Linked DNA regions of Homo sapiens: region 1 is linked to region 2. The links are contacts of gene promoters, found by promoter capture Hi-C in blood cells and fetal thymus (Javierre and others, 2016). All regions are on one chromosome and are shown on one strand. Each heading gives the region's core, a stretch centred on a gene start or on the middle of the fragment in contact. The rest is flanking DNA. Distances are from core to core; before and after follow the strand shown. Region 1 overlaps ABHD6 (abhydrolase domain containing 6, acylglycerol lipase). Region 2 holds the start of FLNB-AS1 (FLNB antisense RNA 1).

The links. The method cuts DNA at HindIII sites, captures the fragments that hold promoters and counts their contacts. A CHiCAGO score of 5 or more calls a contact.
Region 1: a fragment that was not itself captured here is called in contact with the fragment with the promoter of FLNB-AS1 in region 2 in 1 of 17 cell types (endothelial precursors); the score reaches 5.8 in endothelial precursors.

What each region holds. Positions count from the first base shown.
Region 1 is chr3:58,283,652-58,287,590 of GRCh38, forward strand. ABHD6 (abhydrolase domain containing 6, acylglycerol lipase) reads left to right here. Exons shown (of 10, transcript NM_001320126.2): 8 at 1,434-1,488; 9 at 1,702-1,802. Among named protein-coding and RNA genes, the nearest start is that of RPP14, 21 kb to the right of the region's middle. The HindIII fragment of the contact is 1,880 bases long and covers 1,245-3,124 here.
Region 2 is chr3:58,169,347-58,173,082 of GRCh38, forward strand. FLNB-AS1 (FLNB antisense RNA 1) reads right to left here and starts at 1,289. Exons shown (of 2, transcript NR_135534.1): 1 at 1,151-1,289. FLNB (filamin B) reads left to right here. Exons shown (of 46, transcript NM_001457.4): 45 at 244-447; 46 at 1,229-2,905. The coding sequence ends at 1,416. LOC124909485 reads left to right here and starts at 2,431. Exons shown (of 6, transcript XM_047449435.1): 1 at 2,431-2,527; 2 at 2,725-2,815. The coding sequence starts at 2,431. The HindIII fragment of the contact is 5,353 bases long and covers 1-1,613 here.

The DNA of each region.
Region 1 (3,939 bases), core at 935-3,434, 120 kb after region 2:
AGATGGCTGAATGGTTGGATGGATGGATGGATGGGAGGATATCTGGTTAATGCAGAGATGGAGGTTGGATGGATTGATGAATACAGGATAGATAGGTAGACAAATGCATATGTGGTTCAGGATGGATGGCTGCATTGAGCAGAGGTGGAGGATGGATGGACACAAGATGAATAGATATGTGGGTACAGGTGGATAGCTGAACAAAGAAAATCTCTGATGCTGAGCACAATGTTGTTATTCAACAAATTGTCATTGTCCTCATGTCCAGGCTGAATGAGTTAGAGTCTAGTGATGCTCCAGAGGGTTGGTTTAGTCCATAGCAGCCATGGCTGGTTCTTCCCCACTTTCAGTCAGTGCACAGGACTCCTGAGAGAGTGTAATTAAAGGGTTCAGACCTGTTTGCAGGTAGAGGAGAGGAGTAGAGGAGTACAGCCACTAATGTGAACCCTGTACTCTACCTCAGGAGTCCTGAGGCAGGAGGAAGAGAAGAACTGTGTTCCTTCCAGCCACCACTACCTCTTTGGGTCAGTAGCCCAGGTCCAGAAGATGTGGCCTGTCCACATTGGCTGCAGCCCTCACCAGCCCTCAGCAGGGAAGGCAAAGACAGTGTCAAATGATAAACAAAGGGCTGTTGAACCCTCCCAGTGGGACTGTGGAACCCTCCCCAGAATCTTTTCAATAGTTTATTTCTTTGTTGTTTAATAGACCTATCATCCCCCAGTGGCTTAATTTTTTTAATGGAACTTGTTCTGCGTTTGGATATTACTGGCGAATTACTTGATATTATGGTCATCCTCATTATGTCTTTTTTTTTTTTTTGAGATAGAGTCTCACTGTCGCCCAGGTTGGAGTGCAGTGGCGCAATCTCAGCTCACTGCAACCTCCGCCTCCTGGGTTCAAGTGATTCTCCTGCCTCAGCCTCCCGAGTAGATGGGATTACAGGCCTGCACCATCACATCCTGCTAGTTTTTGTCTTTTTAGTAGAGATGGGGGTTTCACCATTTGGCCAGGCTGGTCTTGAACTCCTGGCCTCAAGTGATCTGCCCGCCTTGGCCTCCTGAAGTGCTGGGATTACAGGCATGAGCCACCATGCCCGGCCCATCCTGATTATGTCTTAAGTGAAGCAGAGAATCTCTCAAGCTAAAGTTGCTGTCAGGCCATCTCAGGTGTATTTAACATGCTGTAGGGCACCTCCAGTTTCACGATATTACCCAAGTTCCTTTATAATAATAATAATAATAAAAAGCTTCTTAGAAGCCTAACTCCCCATTAGACTGTGTGCTGCATCATGGGAATTCAGAGGACCAGGCTCTAAAGACCTTGACAGTGCAATAAATTGCTGGACCTCATTCCCATTCATTGTCCCAGAGCTGTGAGAGGCCTGAGGAAATGAATCTTCTCTTGCTCTCTAACTTTGGGTTATTTATCCTTAGATCCTGCAAGGCCTTGTCGATGTCCGCATCCCTCATAACAACTTCTACCGAAAGTGTAAGTAGCCCTACTTTCAGCTTGGAGCTTGTTACAAGTGAAGCTCTGTGGATGGATGGCTTTTATTTCTTAAATCTCTGACACTTTGAATGTCTCTTTGGGCCCCTGAAGAGAGGAAGTGGTGGCCTGGATCTGGTGACTATCCCTTGATTCTGCGGTGGTGCCACAGGCACAGTCCAGCACATACTCACTTTGTTTTCCTTTTCTGACAAGTGTTTTTGGAAATCGTCAGTGAGAAGTCCAGATACTCTCTCCATCAGAACATGGACAAGATCAAGGTTCCGACGCAGATCATCTGGGGGAAACAAGACCAGGTATGTAACACATCCCCGCGGCAGTCTGTGCTGGTCACCAGGGCCTCTGAGGAAAAACGTCCTTGAGGAAGAACAAGTGGTTATTTATGGAGTGAGCTGATCGCTGCTGTCAGGAAGAGGGGGAAGGCACCTGTGTTGGGTGCCAGTGTTGACAGTGGGCAGAGTTCTGGGAGTGGAGAGAAACAACATTTGGTCTGGTAAAAGGAAAGACAATTTTAAATCATTTTCAAAAATTGTTTTTATCAAAGCCATGTAGTCACATGGTATAAAAAGATCTTCAAAGAACACCAAAAGGTTTATAATGAAAACTTTTCTTTTTCGCATCCCAAATTCCATTCTCCATTACCATGAGGCAACTCTTATCTTACTATCTTGAATATATTTCTTTTCTTTTTTTCGTTTGAGACGGAGTCTTGCTCTGTCACCCAGGCTGGAGTGCAGTGGCCCAATCTTGGCTCACTGCAACTTCTGCCTCCCAGGTTCAAGCGATTCTCCTGCCTCAGCCTCCCAAGTAGCTGGGATTACAGGTGCCCTCCACCATGCTCACCTAATTTTTGTTTTTTGTTCTTTTGTTTTTTTTTTTTTAGACGAAGTCTTGCTCTGTTACCCAGGCTGGAGTGCAGTGGCACAATCTCGGCTCACTGCAAGCTCTGCCTCCTGGGTTCACGCCATTCTCCTGCCTCAGCCTCTCAAGTAGCTGGGACTACAGGCACCCGCCACCATGCCCAGCTAATTTTTTGTATTTTTAGTAGAGACGGGGTTTCACCATGTTAGCCAGGATGGTCTCGATCTCCTGACGTCATGATCTGCCGGCCTCAGCCTCCCAAAGTGTTGGGATTACAGGCGTGAGCCACCACACCTGGCAATTTTTGTATTTTTTTTAGTAGAGACGGGGTTTCACCATTTTGGCCAGGCTGGTCTTGAGCTCCTGACTTCAAGCAGTCCACCTTCCTTAGCCTCCCAAAGTGCTGGGATTACAAGCATGAGCCAACATGCTTGGCCTAAATTTTTTAAGCCAGAAGTTAGCAAATGTTTTCTGTAAAGGGCCAGATGGTAAACATTTTCAGCCTTGTGGTCCAGTCTCTGTCACACCTGGACACAGTTGAGTAACTGTGACCTTATAGTATAAAAGCAGCCATAGGCAATATGTAAACAAATGGCATGGCTTTTTCCAGTGAACCTTTATTTATAAAAACGGGCAGTGAGCCATTGTTTGCCTACTCCTATTCTAAGCACACGTATAGTGTATATATATGCATACCTATACATATCTGAGCTTTCAAACATGCTAGATACACTGGCATCTAAGATGCATGTTTGAAAGCTTAGATATATATAGGTGTGCATATAAGATATATAAGATCATATATGTGTGTGTGTGTGTGTGTGTGTGTGTGTGTATATATATATATATATGTATATGTATATATAAGTAGGTATCTTGGAAATCATTTTATATCAGCCCAAACAAATCTATTCCTTCTATTCTTAAAAAAATTTTATCTTGAAATAATTTCAAACTTACAGAAAATTTGAAAGAAGGCCAGGCATGGTGGCTTACGCCTATAATGCCAGCACTTTGGGAGGCTAAGGCAGGAGGATTGCTTGAGCCCAGGAGTTTGAGACCAACCTGGGCAGCATAGTGAGATCCCATCTCTATAAAAAATAAATTTTTAAAAAAGTAGCCAAGCATGGTGGTATGCATCTGTAGTCCCAGCTACTCTGGAGGGTGAGGCAGGAGGATCACTTGAGTCCAGGACATGGAGGTGGCAGTGAGCCGTGATTGCTTCACTGCACACCAGCCTGGGCCACAGGGCGGGATCCTATCTCAAAAAAATAAAAATAAAAAAGAATACAGAGTATACCTGCATACCCTTTACCTAAATGCATCAATTTTTAACTGGCAGGAGGTCACACTGTGGCCACAAAGACCCACAAGTGCATGAATGACCCAGGCAGGAGAGAGTGGGGAGGAGCAGCCAGGCTGTGCCCATGGCGTGTACGCAGAATAAGAGGCAATGGTGTCTTAGATGAGCCAGGCATGGTGAGGATTCACAGCATGGTTTTGTGGACGTGGAGAGAAGGGGATCTCATGTGCTCTCTTCTGCAGCGCCAAGGGACTGAAAGAAGCTTTGTT
Region 2 (3,736 bases), core at 39-2,538:
TTGGCCTTGTCAGCCAAGGCCAGACTCATCCATTTGCCCAGAAAGCCAGATCCTAGTTGTATGGGGGTGGGATCCTAGGGGTTTAGAAGACATTATGGGTGTGAGATACAGGTGTGGTGGCTTTTGTGTTGGGGTGCGCGGGCTCTCCTGGGGTTACTGTGTAGGGTACTCGCCTGTCCTCTGGCTGAGAGACCCCTCTTGATCTGGCCATTCATGCCTGTCCCCCTCCCTCCTGTATCTTAGGCCAGCGTCTAGTTAGCCCTGGCTCAGCCAACGAGACCTCATCCATCCTGGTGGAGTCAGTGACCAGGTCGTCTACAGAGACCTGCTATAGCGCCATTCCCAAGGCATCCTCGGACGCCAGCAAGGTGACCTCTAAGGGGGCAGGGCTCTCAAAGGCCTTTGTGGGCCAGAAGAGTTCCTTCCTGGTGGACTGCAGCAAAGCTGGTAGGTGTCTGGGCCTTTTCAAGGGTGGGGTGGGGCAGGGGCAGGCTGGGCACCCTGGGTACACTGGCCTTCCCTGCTGAGGTCTCCTGCAGTGCCCACCCCCATGTAGGCCAGCCGTTTGCAAGTAACCATCGTCATGACCCTGTTCTCCTGCACTTAATATTTTTAAATGATTTCCTTCTCTTTTGCCTTTTGAACTTGGGTATTTATTTGGGTTTCAAGGGTCGGTTGCCTGGGTTCTGGCATCCAGTACACCTGGGCTGGAAACCTAGTACCGCCACTTCATTCATTCATTCGTTTGTTCTAAAACTTATTTAGCCATGTGACCTTGGAAAGTTATTAAATCTCTTTCCAAAAGTCAGTTTCCTCTTCTCGGAAGTACCTTCCTTAAGGTGCTTGTGAGAGTAAACAAGAAGATTCTCATAGCCAACACTTAGAATAGCCCTTACTGTGTGCTAGGTTTTGACACCCATAACTCTTAAACCTCACAACTAGTTCGTGAGGTATGTGCTGTTCTCATTCCCTGTTTACAGATGGGGAAGCTGAGCTAGGGAGAGGTGAGATTCCAGTCCAAGGTCACCCAGGTAGCAAGTGGCAGGGCAGGGATTCGAACCCACACCGTCAGGCTCTATGAGCCTCTGCTTGTAATTGCCACGCTCTCCCACCTCTTAGGGGCCCCAGCATTATCGTGGAAGCACCTTACCTTTGGCTCTCATATTTCCTCTTCTTCCTGTGCCTGTCCTGATGCATCCGGGTGGAGTAACCACCTTTTGCCTCCTAGGCTCCAACATGCTGCTGATCGGGGTCCATGGGCCCACCACCCCCTGCGAGGAGGTCTCCATGAAGCATGTAGGCAACCAGCAATACAACGTCACATACGTCGTCAAGGAGAGGGGCGATTATGTGCTGGCTGTGAAGTGGGGGGAGGAACACATCCCTGGCAGCCCTTTTCATGTCACAGTGCCTTAAAACAGTTTTCTCAAATCCTGGAGAGAGTTCTTGTGGTTGCTTTTGTTGCTTGTTTGTAATTCATTTTATACAAAGCCCTCCAGCCTGTTTGTGGGGCTGAAACCCCATCCCTAAAATATTGCTGTTGTAAAATGCCTTCAGAAATAAGTCCTAGACTGGACTCTTGAGGGACATATTGGAGAATCTTAAGAAATGCAAGCTTGTTCAGGGGGCTGAGAAGATCCTGAGTACACTAGGTGCAAACCAGAACTCTTGGTGGAACAGACCAGCCACTGCAGCAGACAGACCAGGAACACAATGAGACTGACATTTCAAAAAAACAAAACTGGCTAGCCTGAGCTGCTGGTTCACTCTTCAGCATTTATGAAACAAGGCTAGGGGAAGATGGGCAGAGAAAAAGGGGACACCTAGTTTGGTTGTCATTTGGCAAAGGAGATGACTTAAAATCCGCTTAATCTCTTCCAGTGTCCGTGTTAATGTATTTGGCTATTAGATCACTAGCACTGCTTTACCGCTCCTCATCGCCAACACCCCCATGCTCTGTGGCCTTCTTACACTTCTCAGAGGGCAGAGTGGCAGCCGGGCACCCTACAGAAACTCAGAGGGCAGAGTGGCAGCCAGGCCCACATGTCTCTCAAGTACCTGTCCCCTCGCTCTGGTGATTATTTCTTGCAGAATCACCACACGAGACCATCCCGGCAGTCATGGTTTTGCTTTAGTTTTCCAAGTCCGTTTCAGTCCCTTCCTTGGTCTGAAGAAATTCTGCAGTGGCGAGCAGTTTCCCACTTGCCAAAGATCCCTTTTAACCAACACTAGCCCTTGTTTTTAACACACGCTCCAGCCCTTCATCAGCCTGGGCAGTCTTACCAAAATGTTTAAAGTGATCTCAGAGGGGCCCATGGATTAACGCCCTCATCCCAAGGTCCGTCCCATGACATAACACTCCACACCCGCCCCAGCCAACTTCATGGGTCACTTTTTCTGGAAAATAATGATCTGTACAGACAGGACAGAATGAAACTCCTGCGGGTCTTTGGCCTGAAAGTTGGGAATGGTTGGGGGAGAGAAGGGCAGCAGCTTATTGGTGGTCTTTTCACCATTGGCAGAAACAGTGAGAGCTGTGTGGTGCAGAAATCCAGAAATGAGGTGTAGGGAATTTTGCCTGCCTTCCTGCAGACCTGAGCTGGCTTTGGAATGAGGTTAAAGTGTCAGGGACGTTGCCTGAGCCCAAATGTGTAGTGTGGTCTGGGCAGGCAGACCTTTAGGTTTTGCTGCTTAGTCCTGAGGAAGTGGCCACTCTTGTGGCAGGTGTAGTATCTGGGGCGAGTGTTGGGGGTAAAAGCCCACCCTACAGAAAGTGGAACAGCCCGGAGCCTGATGTGAAAGGACCACGGGTGTTGTAAGCTGGGACACGGAAGCCAAACTGGAATCAAACGCCGACTGTAAATTGTATCTTATAACTTATTAAATAAAACATTTGCTCCGTAAAGTTGCCTTGGTGTTCTTGGATGATGTCGCTTCTGAATAAATTGTTTAATCCTAGGAGTTCAACACCCTCAGCCTGGGTAACAGCAAGACCCAGCCTCTACAAAAAATTAAAAAATTAGCCAGCATGGTGATGCATGCCTGCAGTCCCAGCTACTCAGGAGGCGGAGGCAGGAGGATTGCTTGAGCCTGAGAGGCCAAGGTTGCAGTGAGCTGTGTTTGCAACCCTGCACTCTAGCCTGGGCAACAGAGCAAGACAGTGTAACACACACACACACACACACACACACACACACACACACACAGGCACATCGTTGGAGCCCCAGATCAGCTCTCCCAACCCCTTAAGGGACACAAAACTAGCAACTTGTTTTGACAATGAACCTGGGCTCCTTTTGTGGGGGTGGGGTGGGGCTGGTAAACAAGCTGTCACCTGTCACCCTGCTGTGCTTATTGTTGCTGCTGCCTCTGTTTCTCTTTTTTTTTTTTTTTTAATTTTCCTTTTTTGAGACAGAGTCTCACTCTGTTGCCCAGGCTGGAGTGCAGTGGCAGGATCTCTGCTCACTGCAGCCTCCGCCTCCCAGGTTCAAGTGATTCTTCTGCCTCAGCTTCCCAAGTAGCTGGGACTACAGGCGTGCACCACCATGCCTGGCTAATTTTTGTCTTTTTAGTAGAGATGTGGTTTCGCCGTGTTGGCCAGGCTGGTCTTGAACTCCTGACCTCAAGTGATCCGCCCTGCCTTGGTCTTCCAAAGTGCTGTATTACAGGCGTCAACCACTGCGACTGGCCTGTTTCTCCTTTTTCTAGAAGAGCTTTTGATTGCTGAATGCTTACG